6 separate regions of the Homo sapiens genome follow, and all the other regions are linked to region 1. Evidence: promoter capture Hi-C in 16 types of primary human blood cells and fetal thymus (Javierre and others, 2016). All regions are on one chromosome and are shown on one strand. The core of a region is centred on a gene start or on the middle of the fragment in contact, and the rest is flanking DNA. Distances in the headings are between cores, read along the strand shown.

Region 1 (2,700 bases), core at 19-2,518:
TGCTGCCAGAAATTTAGGTGATATCAAATGATGTCTATACTGAAATCGATACCCTCAGGATTCTCTTAGACCCAGATTCCATAGAGCTCTGCTAAAAAGTCGTGTTTATGTAACAGTATTTATTCTCAGAACAGGGTTGGACGGCTTAGGAGCAGAAAGGCAGAATGTATCTTTGCGGATTTGGGTCATAGTGGGCTGTCAGGATTTAAATTGTGCAACATTGATTAATAATGGGCTGGTTTGTACATTCCTTGCAAGTCATCTTTAAAAGCCAATGACGTCATTTCAAATTAGGATTCTCAGAGATAATTTCTCTCTGTATTACACTGAAAATAATTTTGGAACTATCCTTAATGCCACTTAAAGCCTGAAATTGACCAGTAACTTAATTTGATAGAATATAAGGCGAACACCTCAACTATATTAAATTGTCCCATTTGGGTGGACACTCCTCGGGCACCCTGTTCCGCCCTACACACAGATAATCTGGGGGCGCTCGCGCACAGCTGTCATCGTAGCAGCAGAGGCCACTGTCAATACAGGTTGCCTGACTGATCGTCTGACCAAACCGGGCTAACCCGAGGGCGGTAAATAAGCTCTGGCCATGAAGCAATGACTCCGCAGGATTGCGCAGGGCAGTCACGGGCGTTCACTCCATTTTCTGTTCGTTGTGCTGAGGCCTTTCCACCATTAACTTACCCCAACTCCCCCGCATAGGGCAATACGACCCCTCCAAATATCAAACGCTAAGCATATTAAAATAACAAAATACCTCGCCGCTATTTTATCACCAGACCCTCCTCCCAGCGGGGAACGCAGAGTAGACAGAGAGGCAAGGGAGGGCAAGGCGATTGTGACAGCGCGGAGGGGTGAACACGGCCCAGCTGGGCATGAGGTAAGGTGGGGAGACTACCTGGACAGCAAGCGCGCAGGCGCAGCCGCGGCCGCAGGGCCCACTGGTCCCTTTCTAGTAATTTCGCTAACCGTGACGTCATCTCGGTGCGCCGTTACAGCGCTTAACTGGAAACTGCGATTTAGTTTTTGGTGAAAGGAGTGGAAAAAAACCATGAACTGACCTACCCCGCCCCATTTTGCTTTTAGTCCTTCACACTGGCTTCGCCTGCACTTTGGGCAATGGAGCGGGAAAGGAAAAGGCACGCAGGCTGAGCTCAAAGTCGCGCCAGCCGGGGATGACTCGGCGACGCCGCCAGGCGCGTTACCCGGCGTGCTCCGCGCGGCGCCGGCGAAGGGACGTGGGGGAAGGGGCAGGGAGGAGGAAGCGGTGGCTGCTGCGGATGTCGGTGTGAGCGAGCGGCGCCTGAACACACGGCGGCTGCCGAGCGCCTGACCCGGGCCTGCGCCAGAGCCTGCACCGAGCTCCGGGGCCCCACACCCGCTACGGTGGCCCTGCGCCCGTTGCTACTGAGGCGGCGTGCTCTGCATTCTTCGCTGTCCAGGCCTGCCGGCTCTGGTGTCTGCTGGCTCCTCCTTGCTCGCCTGCTCCCTCCTGCTTGCCTGAGTCACCGCCGCCGCCGCCGCCACAGCCATGGCCGAGAGTGGTGAAAGCGGCGGTCCTCCGGGCTCCCAGGATAGCGCCGCCGGAGCCGAAGGTGCTGGCGCCCCCGCGGCCGCTGCCTCCGCGGAGCCCAAAATCATGAAAGTCACCGTGAAGACCCCGAAGGAAAAGGAGGAATTCGCCGTGCCCGAGAATAGCTCCGTCCAGCAGGTGAGGCCGCCTGGGGCTCGGGCCGGGATGGGGGTGGCGGCAGGACCTCCGCCCGCCGCCCCAGGAGACCTTTTGGAAGGGCCTGGGAGAGGGGTCGTCCTCGGCCATTCTCCCGGGCGTCGTCCCAAATTAGATCACACCCAAGTTCGTGGGTTTGCGCCTTGGGACACCGCAATGGTTTGTGGCGTGGCGGCGCGGCCTGTTTGTGGGACGGGCTGATGCCGCTTTTCTCGGAGCCTTCCTTCTCTGGTATCCGCCGACCCTCAGCCTCCTCCCCCAGTTCCCCGCCCTCCGTCGCCTCCCCTCCAACTCCTCACAAAGGAAAGGGACCCACCGCCAGCCTCCGGGCGGGGTGGAGGCTGGGCGGGGGCGAGGGTTCGCTTTAGCTCAGGCTGCGGTTTTGTTTCATGAATTAAAAAGGGGTGGGTGGGATCCTCGTTGTTTTACGTGCCTGCTTGTTAAGGTGGGTTTTGGGGTGAGGTGCATGTGTATATTTAGTTCTGCATTTTAACTCCTGAAATCTTTCCCACCTTGCAACCTTTAAAAAAAAATTATGACGTAGAAACTGTTTTTAGCTCCATCTTAAGTAATAGTGATAGTACTAGGTTTAAGGAGAAAAGTGAATGACTTTCTTTCACTGATGACTTGCTCTTTCCCTTTTAGTATGTTTATCATCTCTTAGATGCCAATCATTGGGTAGGTTTTTGTTTGATTTTAGAGGGGCGATAGCGATGTTGATATTAGCGGTTGCAATCAAATAAAAGAAAATCGGAGTGAATGCAGAATATTACTTAAACTTGGTTCAGGAATACAAATCTTGCAGTTAATTAAGATTCTTGGTGGAATTTAACAAATAATTTTAGTGTATTGTTGAATACGTCGTGTTTTCCATAATTACTGACTTAATCTCTGAAGATCGCAAACAACGTGAACAGTTGGTGACAGGAAACAACAATTCCTGAAATGTACCTATC
Region 2 (2,700 bases), core at 130-2,629, 300 kb after region 1:
GCCTGGGGATGGACAACCTTTGCTTTCCCGAGTATGCTGCTGACCTGCATGGAACTGATTCTTTGGGGGCAATAGAGAGGTGTATGTAATTTATCGCAGCATTCTTTGAGCTGCCTGGGTAGACTTTCAGGACAATGGATTGCACACTATGTTGGCTCTGGCAGGGTTGCTGCTCTCTTCCTTCTCGCCTCTTTCTCAGGAGGGAATGGGAAATCCATTTCCAAATTGAGCTGTGTGTGGTCTCCCCACCATCTTCCCTGCACCTGAATGGTTAATCTTCCAGTTCACGTGTTTCTGCATGGATTGTGTCCGAGGGTGCCTGTGGTAGCAGCTTAACTCTGCTCTGGTAATTAGTGATGAAAGGAGAGGATGCAGAAGGCTCAACCTGAGAGGCAGAATGACTTCACTGAAGAGTCAAGTCAGAAGAAATAAAATTTAGGGGTTGACACCAAGGTCAGTTCCCAAACCCAGGCTGGAAGAGATACAGTAATCTATTTTCCATAAATCAACCTAGTTTTCATATCAAGCCCCTTTCCCCCTGGGGTAGCTGGAAACATTTTCATGTGTCTTTTCTGAACTTTCCCCCACCTGGGGGTTGTGCCTAGTTTCTGGAGTCTCACTGGGTGCCAAGAAATGGGAGGGAGGCATGTTCATTATTGGCTAGATGTCCACATCAGCCTGACCCTTGGGCCCAGTGGGGGTTCTTAGGACATGACAACCTGGTGAGGGCAGAAAGCCCCATGTTTGTGATATTTTTTTTTTCCTAGATAGACCATATTTTTCCTCCCGAATATCCTTGTGCCAACACAGAGCACATCCAGGGAGCAAGCTTGGTTCATACAGCTTGTTCCTTTCTTCGTTTTAATCTGAAAGAAGAATCTTTTATTCCCCTGTGGCACATTAAATAAAGATAGCCATACATTCTTTGCTTTCATCTCGTTGAGAGGACATGTTTAATTCCCTTTCCCTTGAATCCAGGTTGGCCATAGTGACTCACTTGTAATCAGTAGAATGCAGTGGAAGTGACAATGTGTGAAAAGCAACCTCTGCCTGGACCCTTTGGGAATGCTCATCTTGCAGGAGGCTGGCTGCTGATGGAGAAGTCTGGCTTCCTGGAGACTGCCATGGTGTAAGGAAGCCCAAGCTAGCTACACACATGGAGAGCTGCATGGAGAGAAAGAGAAAGAGAAAGGGGAGGGAGAGAGAAAGATGAGAGAGAGAGAGAGAGAGAGAGAGAAAGATGAGAGAGAGAGAGAGAGAGAGAGAGAGAGAGAGAGACTCAACAACCCCCCTCCTCTGCTGGCCAGACCAGTCTAGGCACCAGACATGTGAGTGAAGAAATCTTCAGTTGCTTCCACATCAGACTCCAGTAATATAGAGGAACCCAGACAAGATCCATCCAGTTGAGCTCAGTCAATACAAAGAACTGTGAGAGAATACTTATTGGTTTTTGCTCCTATGTTTTAGAGTGGCTTGTTACACAGGAACAGATAACTAGAACACTTCTCATATTCTATTCTCAGTGGATTTAGACATATGAAAACAAAATCCAAGAGGTCTCACCAGCTACTAATTTTCATTCTGCTACATATAGCCTCCAAGGAGGGTAGGGATTGTGGAGCCGAATGCCTTTTTAAAGTGGGAGTGGAGGCTGGGGGAAATACAGAGATTAAAAATTCCCTAAGTTATATCTACACAATTTTCTCCCATAATTTAGACTTCTAGTAGTATGCAATTCCACCATTATATCCTTGTTGGGGTTGGCCATTTTTAGAATTTTTGGATTTGGGAAGTGGATAGGTAAAAATGGTGCTTTGTTATGGTTTAATGAATATTTGTACCAAGTATTTACTGTGTGTACAAATTATCCTGTAAAGTACAATGAAAAACTTGATGAAAAATAAGTTCACTTGAGAAAAGGAAGCTTAAGATAAGTGATGAAACTGGAATTACACCATCATGAGAAATGACCGTGACAGTATTTCATCCATTTCCAAATGAGGTCAGAGGACAGAAAGGTCAGCGAGGGTGTGGGGAGTCTGTGAGGCCTCTCATGCAGAAGCAGGATCTGCAGCGAACTCTCTGCCAGGATCAGGTGAACACATCAGTGACAAAATTTTGATAGGTGGTGAGAAGGGCTTTATTCACACAGGGGAATGGCAAGAGTGAAACCAACCATGGTGGTGGGGCATTTTGCGGAGTATTTGGAGTGATAAAATAAACTGGAGGAAAATATGGAAAATAAATTAAACAGAAAACAACAACAGGAACAACAACAAAATAAAACCCAGCAACTTGAAGAAGAGATACATACAGTTTACATTTCTGGATTTCTCTGCTCTCTTCTATGGGCTGTGTCCTCACCGATGCTGGCTAACATTTACTGACCACCAAATAAGGACCCGTTGACAACATGTCAATTGCCCAATGGCAAGGAACCAACTCTCTGAGATGATGCATATAACTTGGGGGAGCAGCACTCGTGGGTTGAAAGTTACGTTCTGATCTGGGAGGGTTATCATCAGGACCTTGTCTTGACTCACAAGAGAAAAAGCCATCCTTCCTTCCTTTCCTGAGCTCTTTAAAATTAACCAGTGAGTTACCTGTGGGAACTTTCCTCCATCCTAAGAGCCCTAGCTGGAATCTTTGGGCTGCTGTTTTTCTTTGTGTGCACAAAGCATATATGTATAAGTTCTGCAG
Region 3 (2,700 bases), core at 127-2,626, 410 kb after region 1:
CTGGTACTCCGGATTCATGTACTTTAACCTGGCCACCATTCTTTCTCCTCTCTCCATTCCCCTCCCCTCTACAGCCTTGTTTCCCAATTCCCAGTGCATGGGTGTCATTTGAGCTCTCAGAATAAACTGCCTGTTAACGTTTCATTAAAAATCTCAGCTGAAACATTCTGGGAGTTCACCTGGACATTTGGGAGGGCAGGGGATTCGTGGGAATGCTCTGAGGCAACTGTCTCTGAGCAAATCAGATCACCTGCAGATACTCCTCCAGGGGAACCCGCAGCCAGAAAGACGCACAGTCTTTTCTCTCTGCTCATCCTGAGCATACAGCTACTGGCCATCTTTGTGAAATGTATCTTTTGACCTGCTTCTTTTGAGTCACTTTGAGGGTTTTTGGGAAGCAGTACTGAGACTGAGACTTCCCTCTAAGAGGCCAGTCTGGGTTCAAGCCGATGATAGTGGCTTCCTCCTGGGGCCTGGAAGGGCCAGAGCTAAGGCCAAACTAGTGAAAAAGAGCCACCTGAGTGGCCAGGAGGTTGACTCACACCTGCGCCGGCTTTGCCGGCTTCACGTGTCGCTTCTGTAGAATGGGCAAAGTGTTGAGTTTGAATTTTAAAAACCCAATTAAGAAACTCAATCTTTTTTTTTTTTTAAGCCAACCACTTTGTCCCAAGGATCTTTAGGAACTTGGAATTAAAAAAAAACACATACACAATAAAAAATAGAAGCTTCTTTAAAGCTTTCTCTTCTCCCAATCTTTGAGGACTTGGGAGCAACCCTTCCAAGAAGATGGGGAGAGGGCAGAGGTGATTGTCCTTTTCTCAGGCTCCAGTAGATAAAGTGTCAGGCCACAGCTCTGTAGGGCTAGTGGGGAGTTTTAGGGGGTGCAGATGGACCCAGAGCAGGCATGTCCTCATAGGAGGTGGAGGGCACAGCTGGGACCATCTCAATGCAGCTTGCTGGGGGTTTCTAGCCTCGTGAGTGGGTGTGGTCTGGAAGGAAGCTCCAGCCAGCACACTGCAGGGCCCCCCCCAGGGCCATGGCTCTCACGTGCCTCTGTGTGTCCTCAGGGGTCCTGTACCATTTTCTCTGGGCCCTGCCCTGACAGGATCCCCCTGCCAAGCCCTGTGCCCTCCCTTGCCCATCTTACTCTCCCTGCTTAATATTTGTGTCCAGTGCCCTTCTGTGTCATCTTTGGCTGTTTACACAGGTGGTGGGAAGGGGCTTCTTTGCAAAAGATTGTTCCTATGGCTTTCCATTGTTCTCTCGATAAAGACCAAGATCCTTAACAAGGACCACTTAAGGTCTGGTCCTGGGAAATTGGATTCTGGCTCTCTGTCCAAGTTTGCCTTATTCTCCTTCGTACATCTGTACATTCACTTATCTTTATTAGGAAAGGAAAAAAAATATGTGTGTGTGTAGTAATAATAACATGGGAAAATGTGCATTGAGTCTTTTAAAAATGTATTTTATATATTTTTAAAAAATTTCAATACCTTTTGGGGTACAAATGGTTTTCAATTACATGGATGAATTATATTGTGGTAAATTCTGAGATTTTGGAGCACCTGTCAATTAGTGTATATTGCACCTAATGTGTAGTTTTTATCCCTGGCCCCTACTACCCTCCCCTTCTGAGTCTATAAAGTCCATTATATCACTCTGTATGCCTTTGCATATGCATAGCTTAGCTCCCACTTAGAAGTGAGAATATAGAATTTTTGGTTTTCCATTCCTGAGTTGCTTAACTTAGAATAATTGAGTGTTTTGAGTTCTCTAGATGTTTAGGCTGATGGCTTTGCGCCTGCTGGCCCTCTGCTGGGTATATCCACCACCACTTGCACCGTGCCCTGGTTAACACCTTTCAGCCTCTGGATCTCAACTCAGATGTCCCTTCCTCAGGGCATCTTCTCTGGCCCCCAGGCTAGATCAGCCATGTGTCTTTCTTGTACTTACCTTGGTGTGTAGAGCAGGGATGGCACTCAGTTAATGATTGCTGAGTGAATAAAGGAAGCTTCAAGAGGCTCAAGGGTGGGGATCACTGCGCTGAAACTTCCCTGGCTCCGTGCATGTCTTTGCTCAGGATGCTACAGATCATATTGATTTTGTCTGTGTGTGTTTAAGATTTTGTGACTATCAATATTTTAAACGATGCTGAACTCTCTGAGACCTGTTCTTTCTAACTTGTTGGATTTAATTGTACAAGGCTTAACATGACTGCTGTAGAGCCATCCTCAGCTGTCACAGTAATTTAGTGCCCTGTGTGCAGCCTTCCGGCAGCCCAGGCTCTAGGCTGCTTTTCAGAGTGTTGTTGTTTTGCTCTTATTTACGAGTAGGGCTCAGAGGTGCTGAATCAGTTCTTGTCTGGGCAGCTTCTGCCTCGTGTATCTTAGTCATCTACCACTGTGGGTTCTTTTAAAGGGCACTGGGTCATGGTGACACAGAAGCCAGTGACCATTCCTGTGGTGATGCGGGACCCTTGTTCCCTCACTTGGGCAATGCACAGTGAGTTCTTCGTGGCATAGTCAGTGACCTCTGTTGCCAGGAAGCTGTTTTCTGCCTCACTGTGGATACAGGAATAGGCAGCAAAGTGCCCTAACAACCACGAACTTCCTGATGCCATGTCACAAAATTCCCTCTTCTCCATATCTTCAGATAGAAATTAGGGGAGAATTCCTTCTGATCATCACTGCCCAGTCCTTT
Region 4 (2,700 bases), core at 16-2,515, 470 kb after region 1:
CCTTTGATTAGAGAGGATGGTTTCTAAGGACAGCAAAAGCACTAGAGACAAAATAAAAAATAGGTAAATTAGATAGTAATAGATAAATTTAAAAACTTTTGTGCTTTAAAAGACACTGTCAAGAAAAGTGAAAAGACAAAACACTGAAGGGATGAAAATATTTTTAAATCATACATCCGATAATGAATTTGTACCCATAATACATAAAGAATACTTACAACTCAGTAATAAAAAACATAACCAATTTTTAAAGTAGGAAATGTTATCACAATAGACATTTTGGTAAAGGAAATATGCAAATGGATAGTAAGCACACGAAAAGATGTCCAATATCATTAGTCATTAAAGAAATGCAAATCAGTGCCACATTGAGATTCTACTTTACACCCACAAGAATGGCTATAATAAAAAGACAGGCCACGAAGTGTTGCTGAGGATGTGGATAAATTGAAACCCTCATATATTCCTGGTAAAAATGTAAAATTGTGCAGCTACTAGGCTGGGCGCGGTGGCTCACACCTGTAATTCCAGCACTTTGGGAGGCCGAGGCGGGCAGATCACGAGGTCAGGAGATCGAGATCATCCTGGCTAACACGGTGAAACCCCGTCTCTACTAAAAATACAAAAAATTAGCCGGGCGCTGTGGCGGGCGCCTGTAGTCCCAGCTACTCCGGAGGCTGAGGCAGGAGAATGGCGTGAACCCGGGAGGCAGAGCTTGCAGTGAGCCGAGATCGCGCCACTGCACTCCAACCTGGGCGAAAGAGCGGGACTCCGTCTAAAAAAAAAAAAAATTGTGCAGCTACTTTGGAAAACAGTTTCGTAGTTCTTCAAAAAGTTAAGCATAAGGTTACCATACAAGCCAGCAATTCCACTCTTAGGTATATACTCAAGAGAACAGAAAACATATATTTACACAAAAAAATGGGTAATTTTCATAGCAGCACTTTGCATAATAGCACAGAAGTGGAAACAACCCGTATGTCCATCGGTTCGTAAATTGCATAAACAAATGTAGTGTATCCATTCCATAAAAATGAATGAAGTATTGGTACACGCTACACCATGGATGAACTTTGAAAACATTATGCTAAGTAAAAGAAGCCAAAAGCAAAAGGCCATCTATTGCATGATTTGATTTATATAAAATGTCCAGAATAGGCAAATCTATAGAGACAGAAAGTAGATTAGTGATTTCCACGGGTAGGGAGAATGAAGAATGACTGCTAATAGGTACAGAGTTTCTTTTTTGGGTGATAAAATTTTTCTTTGAATTATGTAGTTGCGATGGTCGCATGACTCTGTGAACAAAGACCAATGAATTTTATGCATTATTTATGGTATGTTAATTATAGCTCAACAAAGCTGTTAGCAAAAATTATATTTGTTGTGGTTCACTATGTTATTTTTTAACATATTTTGTGAGGAGTACGAGTTGAGTAGCTTTATTATAACCAAGAACCTTTCCATTTCTATTTGTCAGCAAGTTTTGTCAGTACTTAATTCTATCAAAATGAAAAATAGATAATGCTGAACCCAGTTTCATTTTAGCGATAAGTAATATTTGTGCATAAAGATTAAATAATTTGATTTATACCATTGATATTTACTTCTAATAAATTTTTAACTTTTGTTCAATAGTTACTTAAGCTATTATGAAATAACTATTAATATTTTCTTATGAACTATGAATATTAATATTTTAATAGATTCTACAAAAACTATTAAAAACAAAAATTTTAATTTTTTTACACAAAATAATTTTGTGCATCATTATTAGTGCTTCTGTAAAAATGACAAAAGGCCAGAGTATAAAATTGCTGCCTAGGAGATACTGATATAAAGATAGAAGTAGCTGGCATATCTGGAACAGAAAGTCGGTGTAATATGATGGCTAAGAGCTCAGGCTCTCCAGCCAGATGGCCTCAGCTCTGGTCTCAGCTTTCCTGCTCTTCTTAGGTGTAACTTTAGGTAACTCATTTGATCTCTTGAATTCTTGGCATCCTCATCTTTAAAATTATGTTTAACTACAGCACTTATCTCAGAGCTGTTATGGAATTTAAAAATAAGTTAGAATTTGCAAATCCCTTAGCAAAGTCTTGGACATGTAGTAACTACTTGAGAAATGCTAGGAGTTAAGGCCCATAATCTGGCACCTCCAGGTCATTCTAGACTCATCGTAACCATTTCACTCTTTGAGGACATCCTGTTCTACTGAAGTAATAGCATCATGGTGGCAATGCATAACAAAATTGGATTTGGAAGTTTCAGAAGATATAACAAGAACCAGAATTTGCTTCTAAAAAACATCTATTTTTCTTCTACATTTATTTATAAACAAAACATCTCGTTGCCTATAACGTGGATACACATCCAAAATAGTAAGACATCAGAAAATAGAATACATCAAAATTCCTTTCAGGAGGAAACTGTGTTTGTAAGAAAGAAATGTTTTTTTCTAAGTTGTTCAAAGTAGGGAGTATATTGCAAATGTATAGTCAAGTTACAAATGCAAGGTCTCCTGATTTCTTTCTCTGCGTGACTTTCTTTTTTCTGGTCCTCTGTCCTGTGCTATTTACCTTTTGATAAATGTTCGATGTGGAAGTTGATTCTCAGAACCCTTGGCACAATAGCCTTGGTTACCCACATCCATTTCAAGAGCTCCTAACAGTTTGGAAACACTGGATCTTGCTTTGGGTGCAG
Region 5 (2,700 bases), core at 29-2,528, 470 kb before region 1:
AGATGGCAGTGAAAAGGGCTTTGCTCATCAACTGGCCTAAAGGACTGTTTTTATGACAGATAAATCCCAAAACTTAATGTTACTTATTTCTAATCTCTTCTACTTTAGCCCTGGAGAAATGTTGCTGAAAAGGAACAAAACATCTGATTAGACTTTATTTCTTTTTTAAATCTTTCTTTCTCTATTTCAGACTTTAACTAATGGGAAAGTGGCCACAAGTATGTTGAACAGAAAAGGAGAGAGAACAAAGGGTTTCGATAACCCACAAACTATACCTGCTATTCTAGGTGGGCCGAATTTTGTCCAGCATCAAGTAGACAGATACTCAAAATGAAAAATATGCTTTATTTGTGGATGTCAGAAAAGATTTAATTAGAGGCAGCTTTAAAAACTGGGTGATTAGGGTCAAGCAATTTCATTGACACATTAAATAAGACTTACAGTTGAGTATCATGCCAAAGTTAACTACTTAGAACTACCAATATGTACGAAATCTGGGTAGATGAGACTGCTGGTATTACCCAATATCTATTCTCTTCTTCCACAGCAAGAGAATTTTTAGCTGAGCATATGAACTCCCAGAATAATAACTGCATTTCTTACCCTCTCTTGCAGATAGGTGTGGTCAAGTTATTAAGTTCTAGGCAAAGAAATGTAAGAGGAAGTGGTGTATGCAACATCACAGAAGTGTCCTTATAGGGAAGCTTCTTTTCCTCCTTTCTGCTGGCTGGAATGGGGACATGATGGCTTGAACTGGAGAAGCCATTCAATGTTCCCTGGTATTATGAATAATCACACCAGCCCCTAGACCATTTACTCAGACTTTCACATGAAAAAAATAAATTTCCATCTTTGTTCCACCACTCATTATTTTGGATTTTCTGTTGCTCACAGCTGATTCTAATCCTAATTCAGTCTGGGTGGCATGAATATACAATTGGCTGTGAATTGTTGAATTTCTTGATTTTTTTAATGCATCAAAATCAGGCATTAAAATGCATTGGCTTGGTTTTCTGTATTTGCTGTTTCTGCTATTAACAGAAGTCCTGCTTTATGAAGCAACAGGAACTGCCTTGGTTATTGTTTATATAAAATTTGCTTTGCATGTACAAAAATCTCATTTATCTTGCCATCTGATACTTGGTAGATTTGGGTGTTTAATGGATCTTTGTTACCAAATATTTTTTCACTCATTGTATACAGATGCTGCTCTTGGGCTATAGCCATCCTTCCTAACAAGCAAAAATCCTCAGAAGATATTTCCAGGTTTTTTTATTGAGGATGCGGGTGGTGATGGATAGCTCATCTCCCCGAAGTCATCCAGTAACCCAATTCTACAGACACTTTTTTTGTTGTTGTTGTTATTTGGATCAGGGCTCCATCTCCTCATTCCTCTCCTTTGTTTTATTTTTTGCTTTTTTGCAACAGAAACAGAGATCTGAATTACATTAATAAAATAGAAAAACAGAGTGTCTGCCTGTCCTCCCCCTCTCCCTCTCTTCCTTCCTTTTTTTTTTCCTCTCTCTCTCTCTCTCTTGACTTTGAGTGAAATATGCCTTTCTAAGACTAAGGCAAATGAACTTTTGGGAGGAAGAGGATCCAAATACATAAAACTTTGCATAATCTCTCAAGGGCTGGTGAGCCCCTGGGAGTCTTTTCAGGAACACTGAATTAAGGACCAGTGTCCTTGAGTTTATTCCAGAAAGCTGGAAGCGCTCCAGTTTACAGGTAACCTCAAGCTCTAATACAATTATCCCCCATTCACACTCTCCCTTTGTGATTTGTCAAATACCCGAATACCATTACTTTCCACTTCGGTTTAAATTGACTCACTTTTGAAACTTAAGCTTCACTAATATCCATGAAATCACAGATACGGTGTGCAATTTATATTTTTTCTAATACATGTTAAAACACATGGCCATTAAAATAAAAGTATGTGCCCATGTGCCATTGTTTTAGGTTGGGTTGAGACTAGGACTAGAGTACAAATCATCTATTTGAGAGGTGTTCCCAAGAAGCACCACTAGGGGGCCGGGGAAATAAGTGTGAAGAGAGGAAAGTCAATCCAGGGAGCATTACGGTCTTTGGGGTTGCATCCCTGCGGACCCCCTAAGAAAGCTGGAGAATGAGCCTCAGAGTTTTACCCACCATCTTCCCTTCGTCATTCTTTGAAAGCTACTCTCGTGGATGTGACCATTAACTCCTACCACTGCAGGCCCGCTGTGAAGGTGGGCAAGCCAGCTCCTGCAATCTGAGTTACAGACATTTGCAGTTAAGAAGCCGTCAGCACAGGCCGGGCCGGGCGCGGTGGCTCACGCCTGTAATCCCAACACTTTGGGAGGCCGAGGTGGGCGGATCACGAGGTCAAGAGATCAAGACCTTCCTGACCAACATGGTGAAACCCCGTCTCTACTAAAAATACAAAAAATTAGCTCGGCATGGTGGCGGGCGCCTGTAGTCCCAGCTACTCGAGAGGCTGAGGTAGGAGGATCGCTTGAACCCGGGAGGCGGAGATTGCAGTGAGCCGAGATTGCGCCACTGCACTCCAGCCTGGTGACAGAGCGAGACTCCGTCTCAAAAAACAAACAAACAAAAAACAGAAGCCATCAGCACAGCGAGGAACTGCAAGTGCCTAGGTAGTTTGCTTAGGGCACTAACCATATCTGCTTCAACTACCTAATACATCTTGCATCCCAC
Region 6 (2,746 bases), core at 61-2,560, 370 kb after region 1:
GAGTATGTTTTAAGCTTCAGTATATTCTGAGTTTATAAAAAACAGTCAATCAAGTTGGATGTGGTGGTGCACACCTGTAATTCCAGCTACTTGGGAGGCTGAGGCAGGAGGATTTCTTGAGGCCAGGAGTTTGATACTAGCCTGGGCAACATAGACAAGACCTTGTCTCCACAAGGAATACAAAACCAGTCAATCACCTGGAGTTTTGCTGCCTGTACATACTGAATCCAACGAGCATATTTAAGACATGCAATGCATTTTCTTTCATAATACAAATTGCAAAACAAACACAGAATCCTTGGGATCTATTTATATTCTTTCTTGGTAAAAATATCTTTCCTGTTCCTTTTACAAAACAACACCACAGAGGAATTCAACTTATCTCCTCTGCCTGGTATGTTCAACCCCTGTAGAAATCTTGACTCCTGCTGGATATTCAGAACTCAGTCCCGAAGTCACTTCCTCTGGTAAGTCTACCTGGACCACTCGAGCTAAAGCAGCTCCCTCCTGCACGTCATTCTTTCTCAGAGCCCTGTTGTGTTTTCTTGCAAACACTTAGATCTTGAGTTGTTTTTGGGCTTATTGTGCATTTCCTCTTATATAGAATCTAATTCCATGGGAGTAGGATCTGGGTGCTTTTTCACAGCACTCTTCCTGTGTCTGGCACACAGCAGGTTCTCCACTAAATATGTTAAATGAATCAGGGCACTTGCCTGAAATGAATCGGGGCACTTGCCTAAACTCCAGGTGATTGACAGGTTTTGTATTTTTTTGTAGGCAGGATCTCACTGTGTTACTCAGGGTGGTCTCAAACTCTGACCTCAAGCAATCCTCCTACCTCAGCCTCCCAAGTAACTGGGATTACAGGTGTGCACCACCACACCTGGCTTGATTGACTGTTTTTAATAAACTCAGAATATACTGAAGCTTCAAACTTGCCCTGATTAACCATGGTTAATTAAATTAGTCACAACCATTTAACGTTTAAATTTAACATTTCGTTAAATGACTGTGCCTGATTCATTTAACATTTAGTTAAATGATTGTGCCTGATTCATTTAACTATGGGAAAGACTGGTTGGCCGCCTGCTGGGATGGTATCACTACCTCATTCATTCATTTGTTCATGTGTTCTCCAAATACTTCCTGAGAAGTTGCTAGGGGGCCACATGGCAATACAAAGTTCCTGTGGGAAGATGGATAAGGAAACAGGCCATTGTGACCCTGCGTTGTTGGTTAGATGGAGGAACACACAGGCCCAGTCCCTGCTATGAGTGTCCCAGGAGGGCTCCTGACTTAGCAAGCATGGGTCAGGGAAAGCTCCTGAAGGAGTTGGCCCTGGAGCTAAAGGTCCTGCATCTCAAATTCTTTTGGAATGAGTCCTTTCCAAACCAGGGGAAAGCCTGTTGCTTTTTAGACTTACTGTTTCTGACCTTACTCACCCATTCACTTCAAACTCATTGGATTTTTCTCTTAGAATTGAATCCTTTTAGAAAAGTGCTAGAGCTGGTTTCAAACCGCAGGGCCTCCAGTTGTATGTCATTTGTCACGACTTCAACTTCCAAGTCATGAGCAGGAGGGAGAACCATGGCGGCTTACCCAACTCCTCTTGGTATGAATAGCTAGAAATCTTTATTCATTTTAAAAAACCTGCCTTCTGCTTAAGGAGAGGTCAGAGTTAAAGACAAGCTTTAGGGAATCAGAGCAGGGCCTGTGATGGGGACAGTGTTAATCTTGTCAGCAATCCGGTGCAGTCTTCACAGCATTTCTTCTCTAACTTTTCTAACATTTGCAGTGTGTAGCATTGCAAGTCTATAATATCTCACAAGATTTCCTGGAAAGAAAAGGGCACCCTGAAAAACGATGCCCTCCCTCACCAACCACTCTGCAAGCTGACATTTGCATTGAAGATGACCCAGTTTCATATTGGTGGTCCATTGTCCCATCACCTTTGGAAATTACCTATGGAAAATGGAAGCACTGGGATCGTCCATCTCCTAAATATTAATGCCTGTAGCTAGCTCACAGGGGCACAAGCGTGTATGTGTGTAAAGGTGGACATGTTACGTGTATTTCTTTTGGAACATAGGTTGAGTTAATCATCAGTTTATGGCCCACCTCTCATCATTGGTCCCTTTAGGCCCATGGATTGATTGATTGATTTCCCTTTTTCCATTATTCTCCATTTCCACTCCTAAGGGCAATGCTGGGTTCATATACATATCTTTGTCTTTGTATCCATCCTTATAAAATGATTAATATTGTTTTTTTGTGTCTATACTTCTAAATTTCATAAATTAAATGATGCTATAGAACTCATTGTATTCCCTCCTTCTTACGCTCAGAACACTGCTTTTGGGATCTGTCCATATTGCATACGTACATCTTATTTTGTTGATTTTAACTGTGACAGAGTGTCCCAAAGGGTGCGTCTTCCATGTTTTACTTATCTAGCTGTCCCACTAACAATAAACACCCAAGTTGCCTCCAACTTCTGACTATTATGATTAATGCTGTCATAAAAAAAACCTTGAACATATCCTTTTTTTGCACCTAGAGTTTTTCTAGGAAAAATGCCCAGAAATGGGATTGCTAGGTCATAATATTTGACTAAAAACTCCCACCTTGCTCTCTGGAGGAGCAACATGCATCTAGCACCCTTCAGCAGTGCACAAGTATTTTTGTTTTCTTGTGTCTCTGCCAACTTCCTAGTTTTATTGCCAATGTTATAGGTATAAAGTAACAT

What was found. Contacts are between HindIII fragments. The CHiCAGO score rates a contact against its expected background, and 5 or more counts as called.
Region 2: a fragment that was not itself captured here is called in contact with the fragment with the promoter of UBQLN1 in region 1 in 1 of 17 cell types (monocytes); the score reaches 5.4 in monocytes.
Region 3: a contact is called between a fragment that was not itself captured here and the fragment with the promoter of UBQLN1 in region 1, in 2 of 17 cell types (M1 macrophages and M2 macrophages). The highest score is 5.8, in M1 macrophages.
Region 4: a contact is called between a fragment that was not itself captured here and the fragment with the promoter of UBQLN1 in region 1, in 1 of 17 cell types (monocytes). The highest score is 6.1, in monocytes.
Region 5: a fragment that was not itself captured here is called in contact with the fragment with the promoter of UBQLN1 in region 1 in 2 of 17 cell types (total CD4 T cells and total CD8 T cells); the score reaches 5.6 in total CD4 T cells.
Region 6: a contact is called between a fragment that was not itself captured here and the fragment with the promoter of UBQLN1 in region 1, in 2 of 17 cell types (erythroblasts and M1 macrophages). The highest score is 5.5, in erythroblasts.

What each region holds. Positions count from the first base shown.
Region 1 is chr9:83,706,526-83,709,225 of GRCh38, reverse strand. It overlaps UBQLN1 (ubiquilin 1), which reads left to right and starts at 1,268. Exons shown (of 11, transcript NM_013438.5): 1 at 1,268-1,726. The coding sequence starts at 1,547. It overlaps UBQLN1-AS1 (UBQLN1 antisense RNA 1), which reads right to left and starts at 1,391. Exons shown (of 2, transcript NR_135839.1): 1 at 914-1,391. RefSeq lists enhancers at 466-1,354, 1,518-1,587, 1,355-2,245. The HindIII fragment of the contact is 7,028 bases long and covers 1-2,700 here.
Region 2 is chr9:83,406,416-83,409,115 of GRCh38, reverse strand. The region is part of intron 1 of FRMD3 (FERM domain containing 3); the gene reads left to right. Among named protein-coding and RNA genes, the nearest start is that of FRMD3, 130 kb to the left of the region's middle. The HindIII fragment of the contact is 1,095 bases long and covers 832-1,926 here.
Region 3 is chr9:83,299,475-83,302,174 of GRCh38, reverse strand. All of the region lies in intron 10 of FRMD3 (FERM domain containing 3), which reads left to right. Among named protein-coding and RNA genes, the nearest start is that of FRMD3-AS1, 81 kb to the right of the region's middle. The HindIII fragment of the contact is 1,275 bases long and covers 739-2,013 here.
Region 4 is chr9:83,235,698-83,238,397 of GRCh38, reverse strand. All of the region lies in intron 2 of FRMD3-AS1 (FRMD3 antisense RNA 1), which reads right to left. Among named protein-coding and RNA genes, the nearest start is that of FRMD3-AS1, 18 kb to the right of the region's middle. The HindIII fragment of the contact is 4,774 bases long and covers 1-2,700 here.
Region 5 is chr9:84,172,613-84,175,312 of GRCh38, reverse strand. No RefSeq gene overlaps it. Among named protein-coding and RNA genes, the nearest start is that of SLC28A3-AS1, 100 kb to the left of the region's middle. RefSeq lists an enhancer at 1,825-2,334. The HindIII fragment of the contact is 1,143 bases long and covers 707-1,849 here.
Region 6 is chr9:83,338,202-83,340,947 of GRCh38, reverse strand. The region is part of intron 5 of FRMD3 (FERM domain containing 3); the gene reads left to right. Among named protein-coding and RNA genes, the nearest start is that of FRMD3-AS1, 120 kb to the right of the region's middle. The HindIII fragment of the contact is 762 bases long and covers 930-1,691 here.